Regions from separate parts of the Homo sapiens genome. Here all the other regions are linked to region 1. Evidence: promoter capture Hi-C in 16 types of primary human blood cells and fetal thymus (Javierre and others, 2016). All regions are on one chromosome and are shown on one strand. Each heading gives the region's core, a stretch centred on a gene start or on the middle of the fragment in contact. The rest is flanking DNA. Distances are from core to core; before and after follow the strand shown. Region 1 holds the start of GMNN (geminin DNA replication inhibitor). Region 2 has its middle 42 kb from the start of RIPOR2. Region 3 overlaps KIAA0319. Region 4 overlaps KIAA0319. Region 5 overlaps LOC105374981 (a long non-coding RNA gene). Region 6 has its middle 62 kb from the start of RIPOR2. Region 7 overlaps KIAA0319.

Region 1 (3,961 bases), core at 474-2,973:
TGGGCCAAACTCAGCATCTGAACTGCTGCTCCACTGCCCACTGCCCACTGCCCACTACCCATTGGCCCCTGCCGTGTCTGCGCCTGTGCCTCGTCGATAGATGTCCCTAATTTTTGTGGCCATGCCTTTACTCAGTGCAGTGGCTTCTAACATTAATACATTTTACCTTGTGTCCTGGCGCGTGCACACACATGTGCAAACAAAAAAGCTTAGGAAAGGCCGGGCGTGGTGGCTCACATCTGTAATCCCAGCACTTTGGGAGGTCGAGGCAGGCGGATCACCTGCATGATCACCAAAGTGCTGGAAGGTCGAGGCAAGCGGATCACCTGAGGTCAGAAGTTCGAAACCAGCCTGGCCAATATGGTGAAACTCCATCTCTACCAAAAATACAAAAATTAGCCGGACGTGGTGGTGCTCGTCTGTAGTCCCAGCTACTCGGGAGGCTGAGGCAGGAGTATCGCTTGAACCCGACAGGTGGAGGTGGCAGTGAGCCGAGATCCTGCCACTGCACTCCAGCCTGGGCAACAGAGCGAGACTCCGTCTCAAAAAAAAAAAAAGCTTAGAAAACAAAACAATCTAATTTGTGCGGGCATCCTGCTATTTTCTACTCTATTTCATGTTAAGAAAATGGTGTTCGGGCCCCAGTAAACAGACCCTACGCAATGTTCTTCAAACTGCGGGTCGCGGGCCGTGATCTCGAAATTAGTGAGTCATGAGCAACACTGCTTAGAAAAATGCAACTGAACAGAATGGAATTGAAGAGACGAGAAACATTGCTTCCATCACGTCTCATTTGGTTAGATAGCTGTGTCCTAGGTTGCGACGTAAAACGTACCTTAGTGTGAAAAAAGCTGAAAGCCACTTAGCATTCTAATCCTTCACAAGTTTCCCACGCCTGTCAGCGACCTTGCAACCCTTACTTGTTATTCTCCAGTTCCTTTAATAGCTAGATTAAAAACCCTGGCACAGGACAGGGTCCATGCGAAACCCGTATCAACAACGCCAGTATCCGTTTAATGGGAGACGCAGAATTCAGCCACCTCTTTCCATGAGCCAAATTTGCAGATCCCTCAGATCAGGACCAGCCACTTAACTGCCAAGAGGATGGATGCTTCGCCTCATCCCCACAGCTGGCAAGCCCAGGCTGAGTCCCTTACCCGCGTTGCAGTCCCCAAGCCCGGACCCAGCCAACTTGTCCCGGAGGCCCAGCGCCAGGCTAGGGGGCGGGCAGTGTGGCCCCGCGCGTCCGAGCCTACCAACCGCGGCGCGCGCCTCGGGAACTGCGCCAGCCAGCCAATAGGAAGCGCGGAAGTGAGAGCGCGCCAAAACCGACCCAGCCAATGGGGCAGTCCCTCGACTCACCTCCCAACCCCGCCCCGGCTCCCGCGACCGTTCAACAACCCCTTCGCCCTTACCCAGGCCGCGGCCCTGCAGCTGTCAAAGTAGGACGCGGCTTCAGAGGTTGGCCGGAGGGAAAGCGAGTCGTCTAGAGGCTGTGCGCCTTGCGCCCCTGCGTACCCACTTCCTGCCGCCTCTTGCCCACTTACTGGGTGGAGACGCTCAATCCTCGTAGCGAACGCACGTAGCTATGGCTGCAGCACCTCGCAAAAGGCCACAGCTCACCTACGCTGATCCCCACGGTCGCTGGAGTGCCCGGCGCGCTCTGCAGTAAAGCCCTGCTAACTCCGCTCGCCCGCTCCGAACAACCACGTGACCAACTGACGCAGACGAGGGGCGGGGCCTCTGGATCCCGCGAATCGCCTCTTCCCTCGGCCCCGCCCCTTCCTGCGCCTGCGCGGTCAACGGTAGCGAGTACTTGAGGACCGTGGGGGTTTTCTGCGGGCTGGGAGGCCTGTGCCCTTTGACCCTCCCCTCCGACCCTGCTCTTGGAACTTCCTTAAAATGCAAAGTTTTAGCCCTTTACGAAAGGGAGAAAGATTTGCCTCCATTAGTCGTTAGCACCAGAAGAACAAAATATTGTATGTGCATATATATTAATATGTAGTACACGACATATATTTGTGTAAAGCCCTGGCTCCACGGACTCGTAGTTGTATTAGGGGCTTTTATATTTTGGCTTTTTGTGTTTTGACTATGGTGTGGTGCGGTAGGAATTGTTCAGGAGACAACCGATTATCAGTTAATCCTGCAGCTATTCATTGAGCGCCTTATACGTGCCAATTACTACTGTTCTAGGCACTGAAATTACAACTGCTGTTGCAATTTGAAGGAGCAGAAACACCTTGGTAATAATTACGTCTAGCCTTTTCCTTCTTTTTTTTTTTTTTAATTGAAACGGAGTCTCGCTCTGTCACCCAGGCTGGAGTGCAGTGGCGCGATCTCGGCTCACTGCAAGCTCCGCCTCCCGGGTTCAAGCGATTCTCCTGCCTCAGCCTCCCGAGTAGCTGGGACTACAGACAAAGGGAGACCCTGTCTCAAAAAAAAATTAATTTTAAAATATTTTAAAAATAAAAAGCAGAAGGAAGGCGTTATCGAGTACAAATAAGGGACATATTACCAAATGCAATGTATGGATCTCGTCTGAACTAAACACTGTATTTAAAAAAATACCCAAGGGAAATTTGAACACTGACTGAATATTTTGGGATGGTAAGATATGAGTTGTTTAAGGTTACCTGATGAGCAATGGGTTAAAAAAAGAGATTAGTTGTAATGACAATATTGTGGGTTTTATTGTAATAGCTTCTACCTATAAATGGTAATTACAGATGAAATTTTATACCATATATTTTATTTGAAATAATTATTGAGAGAAGCAAGGGAAAAGGTATAAATCAAGCTTTCTCAGTATGGGCTCTATTGACATTTTAGACTGGGCAAATTGTTCGTGGTGGGGGCTGTCCTGGGCATTGTATGCTGTTTAGCAGTATCCCTGGCCTCTACCCTCTAGCTACCAGGAGTACATCCCAATTGTGAAGACCAAAAATGTCTGCAGACCTTGTCAGATAACCTTCCGCAGGGCAAAATCATCCCCAGTTGAGAACCACTGGTGCGAATAAAACAGTATTGGCCTTGTGTTGATAACTGCTGAGGCTAGTATGGATGAGTACATGAAGATTTTTTATTCACTCCCTCTACTTTTATATCTGTTTGGGATTTTCAATAATAATTTTTTTTTTTGAGACGGAGTCTTGCACTGTCACCAGGGCTGGAGTGCAATGGTGCAACCTCGGCTTACTGCAACCTCTGCCCCCCCCGGGTTCAAGCGATTCTCCTGCCTCAGCCTCCCAAGTAGCTGGGATTACAGGTGCCCGCCACCACACCCAGCTAATTTTTTGTAGTTTTAGTAGAGACAGGGTTTCACTATGTTGGCCAGGCTGGTCTTGAACTCCTGATCGTGTGATCTGCCCACCTTGGCCTCCCAAAGTGCTGGGATTACAGGCGTGAACCACTGCACCTGGCCAATAATAAAATTTTTAAAATATTAATTTAAAAAGGATTAAATGATGGGATAAGGAGGTAGAAATACTGGAAAATGTTTAGCCATAAAAATTTCAGCAACCACTAGGCACCATGGCTCATGCCTGTAATCCCAGCACTTTGGGAGGCTGAGGCTGGCGGATCACCCTGAGGTCAGGAGTTCAAGACCAACCTGGCCAACATGGTGAAACCCTGTCTCTACTAAAAATACAAAAATTATCCAGGCATGGTGGCATGCGTCTGTAATCCCAGCTACTCAGGAGGCAGAGGCAGGAGAATAGCTTGAACCCAGGTGGTGGAGGTTGCAGTAAGCCAAGATCACACTACCACAATCTAGCCCAGGTGACAGAGTGAGACTCTATCTCAAAAACAAAACAAAACAAAACAAAACAAAACTTTAGCAACCACAAATATTTACACCAATTTTTTTATTTTTATTTTTATTCAGATGGATAAATAATAATTACATTGCACCAATTTATTTTTTGACAAACCATTTCTTTGATGAGTATAAGCACAG
Region 2 (3,642 bases), core at 364-2,863, 200 kb before region 1:
GTCTTTTTTAACACCAGATAGTTGGTTACAGTAAAAAGAATGCGATTCAATTCATATTAATTCTATCAGGACCTTTTCAAAATGGGGAGCTTTTTGTGTCAGGTTTGCAGAAGACACATTTCTGATGTGGACTGGGATGACTTGGAAGAGGGTGTGGTCTCTCCCACAGGACAGTTAATGTGCAGTGTTGTGTCTTTTAAAAACAGAAAAGGAATGTCATGTCAGGGCTAAGGAAACAGCAAAAAAAAAAAAAAAAAAAAAAGAATTTCCCTATCATTTCAAGCAACTATTGCATGTTCCTTCTTTGGTTTTCGGTTTTCCCAGGAATAGACCAGTGGGAGTGGAGCAGAGAGGGGATCTTTGCAACCTATAGATAGGATGCACGACAGCTGAGAGAGGAAAGTTAAGCCCATTGTTTCTCATTATCTCATAAGGAGTGATAGAAAATGTTGAGAGGCCAATTATAAAAGGAAGTTGGGGATGAGAAGGAAGTAGTTCATGAAATAGAGAAAATAATGTTAAACCTTTCTCCAAAAATATGTGAGTCTCAGTAGTGTGCACCCCAGGCCTAAGCTAATATATGCAGTAGGTGAGGTTTATATCACTAGCATTCTGTCACGATTTCCATTCTGGGACCTTTTCACATCTTGGCCTGAGGTGTTCACTTGGCTTTGAAATTCTCCCACCAGATGAAGTAGGAATGAATGTTTACTGAGAATTTACATGTTTCATCTATTTAAATCTTATAACAGCCCTATGACAGTGGAACAAAAATTATTCCCATTTTATGAATGAGGACACTAAAGGATAGATTGATTAAATATCCTGCCGAAGGCCTCACAACTAAGTAGAATTTAGGATTCAAACCTAGGCAGTCTTATCGCAGAGCAATATTCCCAACCTCCATTCACCATGAAGCATTAGTGACCAAAAAAAGGATCAAACTTAACCCTAAATAATAACCCTCTGAAGATGGAATTTCAGAGATTGTACCATCTGGTATGAGAAGATACATGGAGGTTAGGGAGAGAAGGGGACATCTTTTCTTGGCCATTTGGTTGAGCCAACTGGCTTTTACATGCAAAGACCTTTGGTATAAATAAGACCCTGATCCTAAAGTAGTTACTTAAAGTGATATATATTTATATACTCATGCGAGCAGTATGGCGGCACAGAGAGGAGTGAATAAACATGCTTGTTTCAGTGAATTCTATAATTTTAAAACTTGAAAGCACTCTCACATTGGAAACGGGGACATTCAGGCTCAGTGAAGTGAAGGGATATGCCTAAAACCGTGCCAGTGGCGACCTTCAGCTTAACAAAAATATTTCTGCAACTCCAATAAGCTGGCCTGAAAAACAAAGCCCGTAGAATGAAAAAGACTCACTCACACTAGATTCATATTTGAGCAATACAGTAGTTTTTAAAGCAGTTCTCACTTTAAAAGGTTTTCTTACTTATTCTTACTTATTCTAATGAGAGATCGAAATCCCACTCTGGCAGTTGCAGGAAAGCTTCAATTCACACAGCTTAACAGACTGAATGCTGCTTTTCCTTCCTTGGCTCATTTCAATATAAACACCTGGCCCTGACTGCCCTTGTGTTATCCCTATATCCGTGGAGTTTTGACTGACATTCAGGCTGGCCACCCAAAATCCTTTGCTGATATCACAGCTTTAGATGAATACATGGAGGTAGGGAGGGAAGCTTCCTCTGCCCTTCAATAAACATTACAACTTTTTTGGAAATTCTGATGACTATAATTCTCAAAACTTTTACATCCTGAATAATTAGGATTTCAAGAGCCAGATGTTTACAGAAACCAACAAAACATCAGGGCAGCCTTTCAACAGGACCATAGCTACCCTCCCATCACTGATGGGCCAGTGACGGGACCTGGCTCTTTTCCTTCCATCGAGATTATTAGCAAAACTAGAAAATGTTTATTACATGATTCTCCTGAGTTTTCTTATATTTGAACAATAAAATATGGAACTACTATGCTTTATTTCAATATTGGAGATAAATATTTGGTCTCCGTTTCCTGTTATGTATCTGATAGAATAGGCTCTTAGATGAAGTTGAAAGTGGCTTGTGTTCTGAATTTCTCTGTTTTAAATTAAACATGTACCTTTATTATGATTTAAAAGGCATACCAAAAAAAGGGAAGGGGGGACACATAGTCCTGTCGACCTTTTAGGACATTCAGAGAAGTTTCAAGCAAAAAAAAAATTGAAAACATTGGTAACCCTACCATGATTTTTGGTATTTTTTTCTATATGTATGGCTTATTTGCCACAAAATTGGTGTCATTCTATATATATGCAGTGAGTTTTTTCTCGTTTCTTTTTGTTGTTGTTGTTATTTAGTTTTTATTTCATAATCATAAACTTAACTCTGCAATCCAGCTAGGCATGGGAGGGAACAAGGAAAACATGGAACCCAAAGGGAACTGCAGCAAGAGCACAAAGATACTGGGATACTGCAAGCAAATGGGGTGGAGGGGTGCTCTCCTGAGCTACAGAAGGAATGATCTGGTGGTTAAGATAAAACACAAGTCAAACTTATTCGAGTTGTCCACAGTCAGCAATGGTGATCTTCTTGCTGGTCTTGCCATTCCTGGACCCAAAGCGCTCCATGGCCTCCACAATATTCATGCCTTCTTTCACTTTGCCAAAGACCACATGCTTGCCATCCAACCACTCAGTCTTGGCAGTGCAGATGAAAAACTGGGAACCATTTGTGTTGGGTCCAGCATTTGCCATGGACAAGATTTCAGGACCTGTATGCTTTAGGATGAAGTTCTCATCTTCAAATTTCTCCCAGTGGTGACTTGCCACCAGTGCCATTATGGCGTGTGAAGTCACCACCCTGACACATAAACCCTGGAATAATTCTGTGAAAGCAGGAACCCTTATAACCAAATCCTTTCTCTCCAGTGCTCAGAGCACGAAAATTTTCTGCTGTCTTTGGGACCTTGTCTGCAAACAGCTCCAATCTGTTAACATAGCTTTATGGATTAGATGAGCAGTCACTTCTTGGTTTCCAGGCCCCTTACCTCAAAGGAGATGCGGCCCAAGGGCTCACCGTCGACGGCAATGTCGAAGAACATGGTGGGGTTGACCATGGCTAATAGCACACGGTTTTCCTCGGCGGCGGCGTCTGCAAAGCCTTTTCTCGTTTCTTAATATCATATTTTCTAGAATAATTTAGTCATTTTTAAAAACACAATTTAAGTGGTTGCACAATATTTCAAGGCATATATACGTTCTAATATATGTAACTATTTCCTTATTGTCATACATTTGGCTGTCGGCAATTTTTGTCATTATAAATAATGCCATAGTGAGTATGTTTGCACATATTCTTTTTCCTTGTTATTTTCTAGATATAAAATTATTCCACCAAAAGGATGAATTTTAAAAATTATCTTAACATGTTACTAATATGACATCCAAAAAGGCTGAACCAGTTAACCTTTCCGCTAGCATTTCTTTAGGTGTTAATAAATTTGACACTTTTCTCTTTTCAAAAATTTTTAACTCTGGCAAAATACACATAAAATTTAGCATGTTGATCATCATTAAGTGTATATAGTTCAATAGTGCTAAAGTATATTCACGTTGTTATACAACCAACCAA
Region 3 (3,849 bases), core at 432-2,931, 220 kb after region 1:
CGAGGCAATAACACCGCCAAAGAGAACTTTTGCTTTAGGTGTTTCCTTTTTCCATGGAGCTGACCCCTGAGAAGCCTCAAGCTACCTCACTGGCCAAATCTTCCAGAACCCCATGCTCAACCCTCTGTCCTTAGAAGAGAGCATCAGGTCCACTCTTTCATGTGAAACATTGTAACTGCTCTCCAAAGGTGTGATTTTTAAAAAACGTATATTTTAATCTGGGCTAGGTGGCTCATGCCTGTAACCTCAGCACTTTGGGAGGCCAGGGTGGGTGGATCACTTGAGGTCAGGAGTTGGAGACCAGCCTGGCCAACATGGAGAAACCCCACCTCTACTGAAAATACAAAATTAGCTGGGCGTGGTGGTGCATGCCTGTAATCCCAGCTACTTGGGAGGCTGAGGCGGGAGAATCGCTTGAACCCGGGAGGAAGAGGTTGCAGTGAGCTGAGATTGCACCATTGCACTCCAGCCAGGGCAACAAAAGCAAAACTCCATCTCAAAAAAAAGGAGTGTATTTTAATAGTTATTTTTCAGAAATCACTTATAGATTATTTTGGTTTTATTTGTGATTACGTTCCCAAAGTAAGACTGGTGAAAGGGAGCCAGGTGCAGGCACTTAGAGGCCTAAATCCCGTTAAGTTTTCCCAGAGCCATATGTGACCCTACTGTGTATGGCATTAAACATCTGCAGCTTTGTGACATGTCTATCAAGTAGAAGATGATGATGCTAGTAGTGATAACTGTGAACATTTATGAAGTATTTGCCATTGTGATTAATGGCTAAGTGCTTTGTTTGTATTATCTTATTCAGTCCTCTCATCAACCATGTGAGAAAGGGACTATTCTTACTCCCATTTTACAGGTGAGGACATGGAGGCACAAAAGTCTCAATTAATTTTCTCTAAGTCACCAGCTAGCAAGTGCTAAATTGAGACCTATGCTTCTGATCATCATGCTCCCAGAATATTGCTTTTTTACTATGAAATTACTATTTTGTTCTCTGCGTGCCTTGGCATGGTTTGGATGTGTATTTTCAAATAGTCTCTGTACATAGGATGAGGCACATGGGACCAGCATAATTTTCATGTGTTGAGGAAAAAAAAAAAAGAAAAAGGTGGGGAGCAGCTGTTGCTAATTAATTGTGGGAATTTATTATAATTTTTGCTATTTTTTTCTGATTGCTAGTTCATGACACCTTTTCATTACTGCAGCATTGGACATAGCAGGGTGATACAGGTTCAGGGGAACATTTGCTCATCCAGGCTTTTCTGAATAAGGAATTACTCAGGAAGAAGAGCTCCCTGGGCCAACACACAAGTGTTGAGAATTGGCACTGCAGCCTGAGGCTTAGCTGAGACCTGTAGATAGGTGGGCAAGAGTGATGTGGCTGTTTATACCCAGAAATGTGTTTCTCCAAGATGCATAATGGCCCTCTGAGCTCTGACCTGGCCTTGTGTATGTTTCTTTAATAAAAGACGCCAACTATCACATCATAAAGGCAAAATGTTTCCTTTAGTGTCTTTACTGTGCGTTAAATCCTAGCTCTCAGTTACCTTTCTAAAGATCTGAGTTGAGCTTTTCATTGTTCCTTTCAGACAAAAAAGGACTAAAATCAGGAAAAAAACAAAGTACACCATCCTGGATAACATGGATGAACAGGAAAGAATGGAACTGAGGCCCAAATATGGTAAGACAGTCTGCAGAATGACTGCCTGGCACCTTTATATGATTTAACCTAGGTAGGCCTGAGGGCTAACTTGGATAGAGGGAGAACGATTTGCTGGAGTCAGCACTTTAATTGGGAAGGAAGAGTGAGGCTGGGATTCTGTGATGAAAAACAACCTTCAGGCCGGGCCCAGTGGCTCATGCCTGTAATCCTAGCACTTAGGCCAAGGCGCCTGAGCTCAGTAGTTCGAGACCACCCTGGGCAACATGGTGACACCATCTCTACTAAAAAATACAAAAAAAAAAAAAATTAGCCGGGCGTGGTGGTGTGCGCCTGTAGTCCCAGCTATTCGGGAGGCTGAGGCAGAAGAATAGCTTGAGACTGGGAGGTGGAGGTTGCAGTGAGCTGAGATCACACCTCTGCACTACAGCTTGGGCTACAGACTGAGACTCTGTCTCAAGAAAGAAAAAGAAAAATAACCTTCATCAATCCTGAGGATATGCTAATGCGGGGGTGGGGGCAGAAGGCAGTGGGTTCATTATAAATTTAATGAAATTTTGGTGTAATACTTTGAGGCATTAATGGATGAGGGATATGAAATGTTATCAGCTGGGCACCTACCAATGACCACAGGGCAAAGACTGCTTTTTAAACAGAGATGTCCCCAGCACCTGCTTTTTTTTCTACTCGCGGGTGGAGGGTGGGGGCAGTTGAAGACACTCCCACAGCTCAGCTCTGAACGCTGTTCCCTTTAGGTCTGCTAGGACAGAAATGCAGCAAGAGGACATTTGGACTTTAAAGCCTAACATTTTTCAGCAGCTGCGTTATCTAATTAGCCATTGATAAAGATGGACACAAAGGCTTTACAGAAAATTGACTTTCTTCACAAAGTGTATTGATCCCTATGCTTAGGAGCACCTGTTGCCCACCTCGGTTAACTTTTTCATTCTCGTTTATTAACTGTTGCATACTTAATGAAACTTCTCTGGCCCTCTGAGGCTGCTAAACACCGATTCTATAGATTTTCCATAATTCTGGGCTTATGACTAAGATAATTTTTATGGAAGATATAATCTTTTTCAGAGTTGTGAGGTGCAAAACATTGTTCACAGTGAGTGTTGAATGCCTACCTTGTGCACAGGCACCGGGTTAGGCCCTGGAGACTGGGAGAGGAGGAAGCACAGAGCCTGCCTTTACAGGAGCTCACAGCCTGAGGGAGGGTAATTATACTGGAGTGCAAGGAGTTCTATCAGTGCATGGACGATGCCGGGTAGGAACACTCAGGTCAGAATGACTGATCGTGTACAGAGAGTGTAGCTAATAGGGCTTTGGCAGGAAGAGCCTCACAGGAAGAACAAATAGTGGCATACATTGAGTGCTCACCATTTGCATTGCATAATATCAGAAGTATTATAGTGACGTTTACCTAAGAGCTCAACGTGCTTTAGGTTGCATTATCTCACCCATCTTTGTCTTAAAATACACTCATCCTTCTGACATTCCTGTTTCTATTCATAGAACCCCCATTCTCACTGCCCCAGTTTGAAACCTCAGTCGCTGGTGCTCCACACACACCGCCCCCCACTCCAGACACCCGCACTTGCTAGACTCTTGCCCTCTTTCCTCGTCATTACCATCACCACCCCAGTTCAGGTCCTTACAGTTTCACCCGTGAACTAATAGTAATAATAAACAGGTATTTAATGTTGAATATGTACTAGGTACATCTCAAGTACTTTACCCATTGAATTCTAATCCTGCCCATAGCGGTACGAGGTATGTGCAATGATTATCCCCATTTTACACATGAGGAAACTGAGGCAAAGGAAAGTTTAGCAACTTGCCCAAGTAACATAGCTGGTGAGTGCTGAAGGTGGGGTGGAGGCTGGGCTCTTCCTCTATGTTGCACTGCCTCTGCCTTGGTCTGTTTGGGCTGCTCTAACAAAATGCCACAGAAGAGGAGGCTTATGAACAACAGATATTTATTACCCACAGTTCTGGAGGCTGGGAAGGCAAATTCAACATCTGGGCAGGGCCGCTTCCTCATAGTTGGTGCCTCCTCACTGCATCCTCACATGGTGCAAAGGGCAAGGCAGCCTCTGGTGCCTCTTTTTTTTTTTTTTTTTTTGGAGACAGAGTCTTGCTCTATCCCCCAGACTGGAATGCAGTGGTGCAATCTCAGC
Region 4 (3,764 bases), core at 588-3,087, 170 kb after region 1:
GGGAAACCAGTCCCTTGTCTACAATAAGCAGCCTAGGAAGCCAGCCTGCTATAAGTCAGACTTGTAGGAAGCCAGATTGCTATCTCTATAAACAATCCTGGAAGCTAAACAGTAACTTCTGTAACAATCAGCCTCGAATGACCAGGACTTGATTAATAACTAATGGCTTCCTTAATTTTTATCCCTTCTTCCAACTTTGGACCAGTCAGAGAAAGCCAAACATGCCTCCTAACCAGTCACGTAGGATGCCCCACTTCTAGCGAGCTGCCTGCAGCTTCCCACTGCAACAGCCTCCAATTAGAGCACACCTGAGGCTTTCTCTTTTTCTGCTATAAAGTTTTCCCACTCCTCTGCCTGTCTTTGAGTCTCTGCCAAAAACAAGTGATGGTGGCTGACTGCCTTTCTATAACAAGCTCTGAATAAATAGCCTTTGCTTTTCTCATTTGACTGGTCCTCGTTTATTTCCACAGCTTGTAAGGAGAGTAAGCATGAAATTCTTTGGCTCTTCTTAGGAACTATACTGGCTATTTGAACAAACGCTCTAGGTGGATGTTTGCCTGGGTTGTGGCTCTGTGATGTGACCAGGACAGGCTTCCCACTGACATGAATGAATGATAGAAATAATTTTGGATGTTTCTACATTTACCTATTCTTTTCTTCCTTCCTCTTTTATGTTTTTCCTTTGAAGTTCTTGAGGCCAAATCTGGCTCCTAAAAAACATCAAAGGAAGCTTGCACCAAACTCTCTTCAGGGCCGCCTCAGAAGCCTGCCATCACCCACTGTGTGGTGCACAATGGCGCCCCCCACAGGTGTGCTCTCTTCATTGCTGCTGCTGGTGACAATTGCAGGTAGGGAACTACTACCCTGGAGATACCCGTGTTGGACTTGAGTTTCTTGACTAGTGTAAGCAACTCAGATCAACCTGAGGTGAAGACGCTGTTGGTTTGCTTTTCAATAGAATTATTTTACAGGTGAAAGCATGAAAGGCAGACCTCATGCATGAGTGGTTTTCCGTAAACAGGAATTTAAGTTTATTTTTATCATGACTATTCCATGGGAAAATAAAATCACATTTCATATATACTAGGAAAACTTTATGTTTATATATTGAAAAGAATTGCATACTAGATCTGGCTGGAAAGGCCAGACTTCCTTTTATCAGAAATCTTTATTTTCATTATACTCAGTTTGCTTATGGTGGATGCACTCATGGCAAAAAAATCACTGGTGAGCATCATTTAAGAAGACCCATGACTAGACTGGGCTGGCCGAGCCCATGTGAGTATACCAAGGATTGAGGGTGGTGATATGACTAGAAAAACTGTTATGTACAGTTTGTCCAAATGTAACACAGCCATAATGAAGATAACCTTAGCGAGACCCTTGTTAAAATGCAGTTTCTCATGCCACACTCCAGACCTCCTAGGGATGTGGCTCTGGGATCTGGGTTTTCAGCAGCACCTGGAGATGATTCAGAAGCACCCAAATTTTGGGCAGCACCATTTTATATGATGTGAGGGCCACTCCAGAAAGTATTGCCATTGGAAAAGCCCATCATGACTTGTAGATCACTTACTCCCCTCCATCCATCCATCTTATTAAACTCATTCCTGCTTAGTGTGTAAGAAAAAATGTCCCCTTATTTCATCTTTAATATACTCTAGAAAATACCTTCATTAATGTTTTAGATGATGTCATTAATGTTTAGAGACCCATATTTTTTCCTTTGCAAATCTCTACTTTTTCATTCCTTTTTGCCCTTTTCTTATGAGGTATTCTCCCTTAATTCAAAATATCAATTCCTGAGTTATTGCATCCCAATAAATGTTATTTGCAATTTGCTCATCTTCCTTTTTTTTTTTTTGGGCAGTTGGCAGAACTAGCTGAGGGTTTATTTTGGAAAAAAACCAATTGAATTGTTTTGTAGCTGGAGGCATGGGCAAAGGGGGATACCCCAGGCAGTGAACTCTCCCGCGGGTCGGCTGAGGGCGAGCGCTGAGCCTCAGGTGGGTCTCCTGTTCCCTATGCTCCCCTGCACAGTGGCCTCCCCCACAGGCTCTGGGGCAGTCACAGGAGGGGGTAGGCTGGGAGGGGCTGCTGTGGCCATTCACTTGGGCAGAACATCAGAGGACTCAGACACCAGTTTCCTATCACAAATCTCGATCTTCTTCACAACCATGGCCCTGAAGGAGTTGGTGCTGCTGAAGGAGCTGGAGCACCCGCCAGAGCCAAAGCTGGAGCCCAGGCTGTAGCTGAGGCCCCCATAGGCTGAGCTCAGCTCACCTGAGTAGCCACTGGTGGTCTTTGTATGGATATTCATGTTCTGCATCCCAGACTCCAGCCAGCTCTCCTCGCCCTCCAGCACCTTCCTGTAGGTGACAATCTCGATGTCCAGGGTTGGCTTGATGATCATCAGCTCCTGGTACTCATGCAGCTGCCATGCCATGTCCTGCATGGCCCACTGCAGGGTGGCCTCCAGCTTGGACAGCTTGGCATTGGCATCCTTAATGGCCAGCTCCCCACGCTTCTCCGCATCCACAATGGTGGCCTCTAGGGAAGCCCTCTAGCCTTTGAGGCCCTCAGTCTCAGTCTGGAGCCGGCTGATGTTCTGATTCATCTCAGAGATCTCCATCTTTGTATAACACAGGTCATCCCTGTGCTTCCCAGCCAGTGCCTGCAGCTCCTCATACTTGACCTGGTACAGGCTGTCAGCCCCGGCCTGGCTACAGTTGGTGATCTCCTTGTACTGGGCCTTGACCTCAGCAATGATGCTGTCCATGTCCAGGGACCAGCTGTTGTCCATGGACAGCACCACAGATGTGTCCCAGATCTGGGACTGCAGCTCCTGGATCTCCTCTTCATACAGCTGCCTGAGGAAGTTGATCTCGTTATTCAGCCCTTCCAGGCGAGACTCCTCCAGCTTTACCTTGTTCATGTAAGCTTCATCCACATCCCTCTTGATGAGGACAAATTCATTCTCCATCGCTAAAATTATTTTTTTACTTTTTATTTTTTTTTTAAATGCAGTCTTCTCACTCTGTCACCCAGGCTGGAGTGCAGGGGCATGATCTCGGCTCACTGCAACCTCTGCCTCCTGGGTTCAAGGAATTCTCCTGCCTCAGCCTCCCGAGTAGCTGGAATTACAGGCACCCACCACTATGCTCAGTTAATTTTTGTATTTTTAGTAGAGACAGGGTTTCACCATGTTGGTCAGGCTGGTCTTGAACTCCTATCCTCAGGTGATCCACCCACCTCGGCCTCCCAAAGTGTTGGGATTACAGATGTGAGCCACCGCACCCACCCTTCTGTAAAATTATTGATCTTGTCCTTGTACTTGTTCTTGAAGTCCTCCACCAGCCCTGGTGTGTTGCCAAACTCGGCCTCCAGCTTCAGCTTTTCCTGGCCCAGCATGTCCAGCTGCTGCCATAGGTTGATGTAGCTCTTGAACATGCAGTCCACATTCATCCAAACTGTCTTCTGCTGCTGCAGGAGGCTCCAGTTGGTCTCCAGCACCTTGTTCTGCTGCTCCAGGAACCATACCTTGTTGATAAAGGAGGTAAACTTGTTGTTGATGGTCTTGATCTGCTCCTTCTCCTGGGTGCACATGGCCTGGATGTTGGGGTCCACCTCCAGCTTAAGGGGGCTCAGCAGGCTCTAGTTGACTGTGATGGCTGTGATGCCCTCCATACCACTGGTCCCGCCATAGCCTCCACCCAGACCCATACTGGTGCCCAGGCCACCTTGGAAGCTGCTGCTGCTGCCCA
Region 5 (3,629 bases), core at 18-2,517, 180 kb before region 1:
AAACAATGCTAATAAATACTCAATACTCATCAGCTCCTCATTACTACCTTTTATTATTATCTGTGCACTGGAGGTTATTTACATCGATTGTATCTGGTTGGTGGAAATGGTGTGCTACTGTGCATCTCTTCCCAACTTTGCTTCAATGATGTTGCATTAGTAGCTTGAAATTAGTCATGGTGGGAGTATTAGCACTATGAAAATCCATAAGCACTGCAAATCAGCTCCCTTACCTCAGAGCTAGTTATTTAGTTTTTACCAGCATACTACTCGCAGTCTATATCCCCAGCAGCCAACATGACAGGATCCCCAGTAAATGCTGTCTGACTGGCTGGATGAATGGATGGATGATAGGAAAGAATAATAGAGAGAGAGCAGTAGAGATTAGGTGACAGGAATAACAGCTGGCAGAGGATGTTGGCTAGGTGGGGCATTTACTATTCTGCGCTTTACCTTGCAGCCTACCCAGCCAACAACCTCAGTTGTTCTATTTCCTTCTTTGTGGGTTTCTCATGTTGTGTTCTTACACATTGTGCAAAAGAGTGCAATATAGTACAGAAAAAATGTGGTCATCCTATGTTGCTCCATCGCATTTCAAAAGAGGTATAAATTTTACATTCTGGTTCATTCCACTGGAGACAGTGGTGTGGCAATGTCCACTGCAGAATACAGGAAGCCCCACATTTACAATTCACTACATATTTACGACTACTGTGGATCCAGCGGAAGGTAAGCAGGGTGGGGTCCTGTTGTGGCAAGGTAGTCTTTACCACAAGTTCCGTTCTCATATGCCCTCATCCCAGTGTGTAGAAAGAAAGGAGAACTAAATATTGCTGCCAAAGCTGATTATTCTGTGAATTAGGGACCAGTGAAAAAATCCTACCCAGAAAATGCCAGAAGCAAGGTCTGGATTTCTTTTTCTCACCAAACCTTTAAAAACTCCGCCCCACCAACCATGACATTTCCTTTGTACCAGTTTTTAATGTTCCTATGAAGTGCCTTACACAGTTTTCTTTTAGCGCATGTAAACAGGAGAGAAACTGGGAAAAACAACTAGAGTAGCAGAAGCGTGAGGCAAAGGAACTGGAAAGAAAGTGATGGAGAAACATTTATTGTTATAAGCACAGTTGCTTCGGAATTCTCTTTAAGCTGCTTTTGAAGGGATCCTTTTACGGAAGTCTTATCTTTGTCAACAAAATTTGAAGACCCCCTATTCCATTAGTTGGCAGACAACACCATGCAAAGACAGCGATTCGACTGCAAAACTCATGAATGAGCTGATTAATTTACGTGAGAAAATGTCTATTTGCCCCTCTCTTACAAAAAACCTGGGGGCTGCAGCACTTAGAAGACAACACAAGTTCTCCTGAGCATAAAAACCATAATCAGGCTCTGTGTAATGGTAGTTCCTCTGCCTAATATTGGGAGGTAGAGCAAAGGTCACTGTAGGGCAGAGTGTTCCGATCACCCTGACACCTGTGACCTGGTGACCACCCACTACTCTCTCAGGTGTCATTCTACCACTTCCATGTTGATATGAACTTCTAAAGTCTCTGATCGCTCTTGCCTAGAGAACTTCTGGAAATCAATGAAGTCATTGATTTTTAAAATGTCTGGAACATTGATTTCTATCAGGCCTCACGCAAAGATCTTGGCTGACCTTTGTCTTCTAGGATGTCGCAGTCTAGCAGGGCATGCTGCCTTCAAAACTGACACACAAGACCTAGATCCTGTGGCTGCAAGTCTAATGCCTGGACTGTGTTCTATGGTACTGCAGAGGTCAGCAGAGAAAATAAAAGATTTGAGAAATCAGCACTAAAGCAGCAAACCCTATGCACCCAACCCCATCCACCTCGCCTGTTAGATAGCTGCACTTTAGGCTTGTTTAAATGAATATATTTTCTTTTTGTTCAGATGGAACAGTTCAGTCATCCCTGTAAGAACTTTCTGGCATAGGTTTCCACAGGTTTGACTCACTGGCTCTTCAAAAGTGTTTTGGCTTGCTCCGGTGACCCTGCCATGTTTCATGTCCCCTACTGCCCATTCACTTAGATTCCTTGTCCTTAATCTCTGCATCAGTAAAGTGAGGACAGACACACTGAGCTCCCTTTTACTTCGTAAGGAAAACAGAAGGATAAGCCACACATACTCCCAAGTATCTTAGGGAAAATGTGCCTTTATTGTCATTAATATTGTCATCATAAAGTAAACCATGAGATTACAGGATTGTGCAAGAGTGAATGCAGAGCCCAAATTTTTCCAAGGGTGAATAAAGGATGGTTGAATAGGAGGGAGGGAGGGAGGAAGAAAAGAGAAAGAATCTTGCATTTAAGACAAGCATTGCCAACTTTCTGCCTTCACAGAGTGATCTGGCCCAAGCAAGTACTTGACAGGATTATTATTATCAGATAATACCTATAATCAGCAATACCATATTACTTTTGCATAAAGTTTTTACTAGAAACCATCCAATGAAACACTACTAGGTGCTCTTCCAGGAACATTTGATACTCAGCACCTTGGTTCATAGCAGCACCGGGCATTTATACTACCCTGTAAATAGCAACAACTGAACTACATGGATGCAACAGGCAGCTGGTTGCATTTGCAACGTTTTTGACACTAGGTCATCTCTAGGATGAGCAGTGAATATAGTGAGAGAGTGGAGCCACCCCTTCCCCGCTCTGCTTCCTCCACCTCACTCACTCACAATACTTAACAACTCTCCTATTTGGTACTTTGTTAAAACTTTGGATGAAATTTCATAAGAAAATAATTCACCCAGAATTCTAACATTTCTCCAGGGGCTGCCCCTTCCAGGTGGTGGGCTATAGCACCCAGGGGCTTTCCCTGAGGGACAAGGAGCTAGGCCCTGGTGAACTCTTGCTAACCAGCTTCAGATCTCTGAGGGGCCACTTCTTCACCTCAGGGTGGCTAGTGAGCCCTGCGCCCCATTGCCACCATGGGTTTCCATGATATTAGAAGATGGGAATATAATATTTATACTGTTTTTGGCATTTGCCAAGTCCCCACTGGAAAAAGCAAGCTGGCATACCTTTATTTACTCCTGCCCATTTTCTCCAAGGTTGCTTAGAGTCCCCAGAAAGCTGGCCCAACCTACCTATTTCACGAAACCTGACCCTAAAGATGTCCTGAAAAGCCCTGAGACCCTTCACGTGCAGAGGCTGAGAGGGCAATCTAATGACTCTACTGCTGAATTTGCAAGGATACGGGTTTATAACCGTTGGTAAGGTGAGAAGTCTCTAAAATCTGCTGTAAAAACACCTTTTAAAGGCTTCAACCTCGTGATACTTTCATGAGGTTTGAGTTCTGGGTTTTGCTTCTTGTTTTTTGGAGAGCTGGCGGCTTTCTGCTCCCCTCCCTCTTGAAACTATGGTGTTTCTATCTTCTTGCTTTCTCCTCCTCTGGCCCCCAGCATTTTCCTTGGTCTACACCCTTGTTTGTAAGTCTTGGTTCACTGCCTTCAGCGCTGTTTGTGGTCTCAGAGAGGATGGGTGGCGCTTTTCAAATTGTTGTCACACCAGATATGGTTCTAAGAAAAGGAAAAAAAAAGATACTATTTGAAGAGTTAAGGAGGAGAGAGTGACATGGATGTACAGAGATGAAAT
Region 6 (3,453 bases), core at 524-3,023, 220 kb before region 1:
TGAAAAGACACCAGTAAGAACCTTCTAGGCAAGAGTGCCAATGTGTGCATAGGACTAGACTTGAGAGAGACCATGGTATTGGGGATATGCAAATGGCCCTGGGTGGCTGGGGCCATGAAGGCAAAAGATGAAGGGTGGCAAGGAATTGGGCAAGGCATACTTGAAGCTAAAAATCTCAGTCAGCTGGCTGACCTTCTCTCACCACCACCTGATACTGATGGGCTCAGAGAGGTCCCCAAACATGGTTGAGACCTCGACTCCAGCTGGTGTCCAGGCTCTTGACACTGTTGCAAGAAGGAATTCAAGGATGAGTCAGGGCTGGGCGCGGTAGCTCATGCCTGTAATCCCAGCACTTTGGGAGGCTGAGGCAGGTGGATCAGGAGGCCAGGAGATCAAGACCATCCAGGCTAACACAGTGAAACCCTGTCTCTACTAAAAATACAAAAAAATTAGCCAGGCGTGGTGGTGGGCGCCTGTAGTCCCAGCTACTTGGGAGGCTGAGGCAGGAGAATGGCGTGAACCCGGGAGGTGGAGCTTGCAGTGAGCCGAGATCATGCCACTGTGCTCCAACCTGGGGAACAGAGCGAGACTCTGTCTCAAAAAAAAAAAAAAAGGATGAGTCAGAAAATAGTGAAAGTACAGAGATTTGTTGCAGAGGGAAAATTACACACTCAAGAGAAGGGAATGTGGTTGTAGACAAGAGTCATGCACAAGGGGGTTTGGGGTTGCTACCTTCATGGGTTTCTTTAACCAAAGCAAGGGGTGGAATATTCACGAAAATTCCTGGGAAAAGGTGGAGATTTCTCAGAATTGTCATGCCGCCCACTTTTCCAGCAAGTATAGATGTTCTTGGAACTGTCATGGCACTGGCAGGTGTGTGATTTGTATGTTAATGAGCATATAATAAGGTCCTAGGTGAAACCTAAGTAGGATCCAGCTCCATGTTGGGTCCAGTCAGTCTCAGTCAGCTTGGTCCACACCTGGTTTTTCAGGGTCTTATCAGCCCATAGCCTCTAGTTATGTGAAACTGCTGCCTGGAATTTTTATTCTCCTGTAACCACCCTGTAAGTTTCCTGTCTCACATCCAAATCAACATCCCCAAGATTCCCTATCAGCCTTCATTTGATCTCCCAGATCAATTAGGAGGAAGGAACACTCTGATTCAGTGCTATGTGGAGTCACCCTGGAGCCTGAGGCAAAAGGAATATGCATCCCTATAGTGTACATTCACCCAAAAATGTTCCTATAGTTTGTGGAAGAAGTCAATACAAGCTCTACAATAAAAAAAAAAAAATGACTGCATATAAAGTTCCACATTGTCCAATCTGTTCCCGTGCCATTGTCAACTCTCATTGACAAGGTCTGTCCTGGCCAACCTTGGGCCGATTGGAATTCCTGTTCCACAATAACCCAGGGTCATAAAACAAATAACAGCAGCCTGTCTTCACCTAATTTTTTGATATTTTGTTTATTGTAGATTTTTTTTGCCCATAGTCTATAGATGAGAAATATATAGGATCCAGGTGGTAAAAAATCATGTGAAAAATGGTAAGCAGTTTGCATTTTGTATAGGGGCAATGGAGAGACGTTGAAAGGCTTTGAACATGGAAACAAAGGAATCAGATTTTCTGGGTTAGAAATATCATTCTAGTTGCAGATTTGAGGGTAGATTTGGGATGCTAGATTTTTTGATAGAAACATCTGTATTTATAGTCACCAAAAATATCCCTTGGGGGATTGCTATTAACTTTATAAAAATGGTTTGCAATATAAAATCCTTGTAAATGAGAAATACATTTGTAAATATGTACTGATTTGTACATATGTCTGATGGTAAATTTGATTATTCACAACTTTTCAAAAACACACTCCTGTGTTTTTGCAAGTGATCATTTTGTTGAGATTCTCAAAGAATTACTTGAGCAAGCTGATGAACACATCATGGAGTATAAATTGCAGAGGAGACCGTTTTCTATCCAAAACACAAGAAAACAAACAGATTGAGGAAGTTAAGGGGAAAAGGAGAAAAAGAGGGGCTTGGCAGTTTAAGAGTGTGGGCTAATTTACATCTGAAAATCCTCTCTCATGCTGTTCTCTGCACCTGGAATACCCTCCCCACCGCCTATTCAATTTCAAGGCCCAAATCAAGCTCTATTCCTAAGACTTTTTTGATTGCTCCAGTGCATCCAATCTCCTTTTCCCCTTTAGTTAGTGGCCCTGAAACCTAAGTGTGAGAATCACCCAAAGGACTTACCGAAGCAAAGTTTTGGTTTCAGTAGGTCTGGAGTGGGGACTGAGGATGTATTTCCAACAAGTTCCCAGATGATGCTGATGCTGCTCACGGGCCACACTTCGGGAATCACTGCTTTAAACCAGTGCGTGTTTCTCAGACTTTAATGTGCATACAGATCACCTGGGGGTCTTGCAAAGGATGCTACACTGAGCTCTATATCAATGGTTTTCAACAAAGGATGACTTTACTCCCAGGGAACATTTGGACATGTTGGACATTTTTGGTTGTTATATACTGTGGCAGTAGGAAGTGAGGAGTGCTTTTGCTTGTTACTGGCATCTAGTGGGTAGGGGCCAGAGATGCTTCAAAACATCCTACAATGCCAAGGACAGCCTCCCACAATCAAGAATTATCTAACCCAAAATACCACTGTTGGGAAACCTTGATTTAAACCATACAATTTAGATACCATCACCATTTGCTATTGCTCATGGAGGCTGTAAGGACTGCAGTTTCCTAAAAGCAAGCACTATGTCTAATATAGAAATTCTGAGGCTCTTCCTCTTTCTGGGCCAAATACTACCTTCCCACCCCACCTCCCCTCCAAATGCCTAACGCAGTGTTTACTACATAGTGAGCATACAGGAAAAGGTTTTTTAAATTAACTACCTAGGAACACTCAAACTAGTGGTTCTCAGGCTTAACTGTATATTAGAATCACCTGGGGAGTTTTTTAAAACACAAATGCCTGCATCCCACCAACAGAGATTCTGATTTCATTGTTGTGTGCTATGGCCTGCATGTTGGGAGTTTTAAAAGCTCTGCAGGTGAGCCCAATGAGCAGACAAGGTTGAAAATCATTGGACTCCATCCTCGCTAGTTAGTAATTCACATTTGAAACTGTGAGATTGAGAAGGAACACTTGTAGCCGCTTCAGCGTATGTATGATTGCCCCTAAGGAAAACCCATTCCAAAACAAGTTAGACCCATAAAATGTCATTAATTTCCAAGTAGTTGTTCTGTACCGCCTGTGAGTTGTCCATTATGCTATGTGCTAGGAATACAAAATTGAAAAGTTTAAGGGCTCTGCCTTCTAGGGACCTCCTAGTGCAATGGAGAAGTTAACTATGAACAATACAGTAAGTGCTATAATAGAAGCCTGTATAAAGTGCCTGAGTCACGCAGAGGAAGTATCACACTAAAGGAAGTGGCTTACTTTT
Region 7 (3,385 bases), core at 135-2,634, 150 kb after region 1:
CTGTGAGGGGCTCCACTGATCAGGATACTTGGCTGCTTTCTGACGTAGCTGTCCACTCATTGATTCATGTGAGGCTTGCTGTGGCATCTGAGTGCATGAGTGGGAGGTGTCTGGTCAGGTTTCCCTCTGGGGTGTACGGGTGAGCACTCCCCAGGCAGCCACTGGAAGGAGAGCTCTGCCTAGAGGTGTGGTGCTTCAGAATAAAGTAGATTTCATTCCAGGGCAGAGCTGTGCATTCGCAGACTCTGTTGACTCTCCTTTTCTCCCAGGCCCAGTGCTGCCACCAGGGCCCCATGGAGGTAGATCTCCGTCTCTTGAGAGAGCAGTTCTCTGGCTTTAGCTTGAGATCTGTTTTTCGTTTGGTGATCACCCCAACGATTGTGCCTTGGCCGGTTCTGTCTCTTTGCATCCATTGGCTCAGGGCTTGGAGCTTCTCCAGTGCTGTCACCAAAAGTGCTGTTCTTCCTTTTTCTAGGAAATGAGTTTCCTCTCTTCCTTTCCAGTCAGAGCCATGCCATCTGCTTTCTATCTTCCAGGAATTCTTTGAAATGATTGGTCTATTAATGATGTCCATTCTTATTTTCCTGTGTTGTTATGGTTTATTTTCTTTTGTCTGTTCTTATGTCCTGTTTGCCTCCCCTCACAGTTTTTCCCCCCAGTAAGACCATGCACAGGAAAGAGGAGAGCTGGATATACATCTATCTGCCATATTGAACTAGAAAGTTTTCTTTTTTATTTTGAGCTTTCCAAGATTTTCTTAATGATGCCAATTTCCTCCCAGATAGATTAATATGAATATATTTTTTGTGTGGGCTGTGTCTCTGGATGTCCCCTGGAATAATGGTGGTTCTTGTCTCCATGATCTGCCTCTTTAGAGAGCTCAATTCTCTTTTTAATGAACACTTGGGGGCTTGGTCTGTTGCTGCAACACCCTGCTTCTCTCAAGCTTCAATAATAAAGTGAGTGTGTTAAGGAACTATGAGTAGAGAACCATAAGATACTCGCCCATCTCCCAAATATCTCCCATACCATCATCTGTCAAAGGTACCTGAAATACCTTTTTGTCTTCAGGAATCTCCAGATGAAAATGCTAACGTCCTAAGAAAGAATAAGACCTTGAGGCTTAAATAAGTAATATCAGCCAACACCTTCATTTGGAAGCTTGGGTTTGTGGAAACATAATGGAAGGGAGATGATGGGAGGATGAGCAGGATGTGACAGGGACTCCCTAAAAGGGAAGTAGGTGTGACTGTATGCTTCTCAGTTTTCTTCCATGCCCACCCTGGCTGATACCACATAGTTTCTGTTTCTTATTTTGAATTGGCAGTAGGAAGTCAGCTGCATTCCTAGGCATACGCATAGGTGCTATTATAGAATGAATGTTTGTGTCTCCCAAAATTCATATGTTAAAAGCTCCAACCCCTGTGACTATATTTGGAGGTAAAGACTTTATTGGAGGTAATTAAATTTAAATGAGGTCATAAGGGTGGGGCCTTTATCCAATAGAATTAGCATACTCCCTTCAAGCCTCCAGAGCTTTGAGAAAATAAATTCCGTTATTTAAGCCACCGACTCTATAGTACTTTTTTCTTTTTATGGAAGCTTGAGCAGACTAATACAGTTGTCTTTAGGGAAAGATTGAAGATAGAAAAAAAGCAAAAACACAAGTATGGGGCCGGGAGCAGTGGCTTATGCCTGTAATCCCAGCATTTTGGGAGGCCGGGGCAGGCAAATCACCTGAGGTCAGGAGTTCAAGACCAGCCTGGCCAACATGGTGAAACCCCGTCTCTACTAAAAATATAAAAATTAGCCGGACGTGGTGGTGTATACCTGTAATCTCAGCTAGTTGGGAGGCTGAGGCAGAAGAATTGCATGAATCCAGGAGGTGGAGGTTGCAGTGAGCTGAGATCATGCCACTGCACTTCAGCCTGGGCGACAGAGTGAGACTCCGTCTCAAAAAACAAAAACACAACTAGGGATAGTCAGCATTTCCTTTTTTTATATATAAAAATTGAAGAGGCCTCATGTTTGGGATCTTCTTAGCTAAGATTAAAACCAAGTTCTGGAGTGCCACAGTCCAGGTGACAAAAATGATTTTTAAAAAAATTTGTGAAGCAGTTTTGCATACTTTTTTCATGTCTGAATATCAAGTTCAGGAAGCTTGACTCCACTACTCCCGACCAATATTGGCAAAATATATTGAAAATAAATTGCTAACTTATTTTCAGTAGCATATTATTGACCAAGGAAACACAAAACAGGATTTTAGGCCAATTAATCCAGCAGTGTTAGAATGAACAGCGAATGGGATCCATGTGATTGTCATTTCAGATGGTCGGCACTTTTTAGTCAGGCTGGAACTATATTTGGTTTGCTCTGGCTGAAGCAGCGAGGGAATTGCTATAGTGTGATTTGCACGCCTGCTGCAGCAAAATATGGCACTCTCAAGATCAGAAGGCACTGTTTTATTTTAAGTTTCTCCCCCTTGCACCTTAAGGTCTCTCTGCAGATGCATGTGACTAGGTGAGACATATTCATGGAATATTTTGAAAATAGGCCATTTCCCCCCTCGTGCATTTTCACTCTTTCTACTCAAGTTCATCCCTCAAGCATGAACATTCCTTTTCCATTGTCACTCACTCTCTTGGTGGTGTTAACCAGTCTTGTGGCTTTGAATACCAGCTACACAATGATGCCTCCCAGTGTATGTCTCCAGCCCTCTCTCCCATGAACCCTGGACGTATTTATCCTGTGGCCTATTCAGCAGCTCCACTTAGATATCTCTTGCATTTGGAGAATGACAACCCCATTCTTCCAGTTGCTCAGAGTCATCTAGGACTCTTGTTTTTGTGTCACACCTTACATCTTATCCATCAGCAAATCCTATATGCTCTACCTTAAAATAAATCAAGGCTCTGACTCCTCAGGGCCTTCACTACTATCACCTTGGTGCAAGACACCGTCCTCTCACCTGGATTATTGCCGAAGCTGCTAACTTGTCTCTCCATTTCTGCCTTTGATTGCTATACTCTCTTTTCAACGCAGAAGCCCGAGGGAGCTAATCCTGAAACATTTCCAGTTTCATGGTGAAAGCCAAAGATCCTTCATACTAACCTATAATACAGCCTCCCATTGTCCCCCACCCTGACCTTCTAGTGCTTTCCCTTTTCTAGCGATGCTGACCCTCTTGCTGTTCCTGCAATACACAGGCACATTCCCCGCCTCAAGCCTTTGTGTTTCTTTTTCCCTCTGCCTGGGAACTCTTTCCTCTCAGCTGTCCACATGATTCACTCCCTCATCTCTCCTAAGTCTTTGCTCAAATGTGACCTTCTAAGTTCAAAAATTCTCTCTTCAGCAGTGTCTAATCTGCTATTTAGCCCATCCA

What was found. Contacts are between HindIII fragments. The CHiCAGO score rates a contact against its expected background, and 5 or more counts as called.
Region 2: a fragment that was not itself captured here is called in contact with the fragment with the promoter of GMNN in region 1 in 2 of 17 cell types (neutrophils and naive B cells); the score reaches 6.7 in neutrophils.
Region 3: a contact is called between a fragment that was not itself captured here and the fragment with the promoter of GMNN in region 1, in 1 of 17 cell types (naive CD8 T cells). The highest score is 6.2, in naive CD8 T cells.
Region 4: a contact is called between a fragment that was not itself captured here and the fragment with the promoter of GMNN in region 1, in 2 of 17 cell types (neutrophils and naive CD8 T cells). The highest score is 5.6, in neutrophils.
Region 5: a fragment that was not itself captured here is called in contact with the fragment with the promoter of GMNN in region 1 in 1 of 17 cell types (neutrophils); the score reaches 6.4 in neutrophils.
Region 6: a contact is called between a fragment that was not itself captured here and the fragment with the promoter of GMNN in region 1, in 15 of 17 cell types (neutrophils, naive CD8 T cells, M2 macrophages and 12 more). The highest score is 18.9, in neutrophils.
Region 7: a fragment that was not itself captured here is called in contact with the fragment with the promoter of GMNN in region 1 in 1 of 17 cell types (neutrophils); the score reaches 5.2 in neutrophils.

What each region holds. Positions count from the first base shown.
Region 1 is chr6:24,772,699-24,776,659 of GRCh38, reverse strand. GMNN (geminin DNA replication inhibitor) reads right to left here and starts at 1,723. Exons shown (of 7, transcript NM_015895.5): 1 at 1,416-1,723. RefSeq lists an enhancer at 729-808. The HindIII fragment of the contact is 2,242 bases long and covers 561-2,802 here.
Region 2 is chr6:24,975,904-24,979,545 of GRCh38, reverse strand. It overlaps a transcript of RIPOR2 not described here and the pseudogene PPIAP29. Among named protein-coding and RNA genes, the nearest start is that of RIPOR2, 42 kb to the right of the region's middle. The HindIII fragment of the contact is 193 bases long and covers 1,517-1,709 here.
Region 3 is chr6:24,549,272-24,553,120 of GRCh38, reverse strand. KIAA0319 reads left to right here. Exons shown (of 21, transcript NM_014809.4): 20 at 1,596-1,687. Among named protein-coding and RNA genes, the nearest start is that of ALDH5A1, 56 kb to the right of the region's middle. The HindIII fragment of the contact is 7,406 bases long and covers 1-3,849 here.
Region 4 is chr6:24,598,133-24,601,896 of GRCh38, reverse strand. It overlaps KIAA0319, which reads left to right. Exons shown (of 21, transcript NM_014809.4): 2 at 689-848. The coding sequence starts at 794. It also overlaps the pseudogene KRT8P43. Among named protein-coding and RNA genes, the nearest start is that of KIAA0319, 46 kb to the left of the region's middle. The HindIII fragment of the contact is 2,210 bases long and covers 733-2,942 here.
Region 5 is chr6:24,949,021-24,952,649 of GRCh38, reverse strand. LOC105374981 (a long non-coding RNA gene) reads right to left here. Exons shown (of 3, transcript XR_007059514.1): 3 at 2,159-3,553. It also overlaps a transcript of RIPOR2 not described here. Among named protein-coding and RNA genes, the nearest start is that of RIPOR2, 15 kb to the right of the region's middle. The HindIII fragment of the contact is 4,936 bases long and covers 1-3,629 here.
Region 6 is chr6:24,996,719-25,000,171 of GRCh38, reverse strand. It overlaps a transcript of RIPOR2 not described here. Among named protein-coding and RNA genes, the nearest start is that of RIPOR2, 62 kb to the right of the region's middle. The HindIII fragment of the contact is 8,245 bases long and covers 1-3,453 here.
Region 7 is chr6:24,618,889-24,622,273 of GRCh38, reverse strand. All of the region lies in intron 1 of KIAA0319, which reads left to right. Among named protein-coding and RNA genes, the nearest start is that of KIAA0319, 26 kb to the left of the region's middle. The HindIII fragment of the contact is 441 bases long and covers 1,164-1,604 here.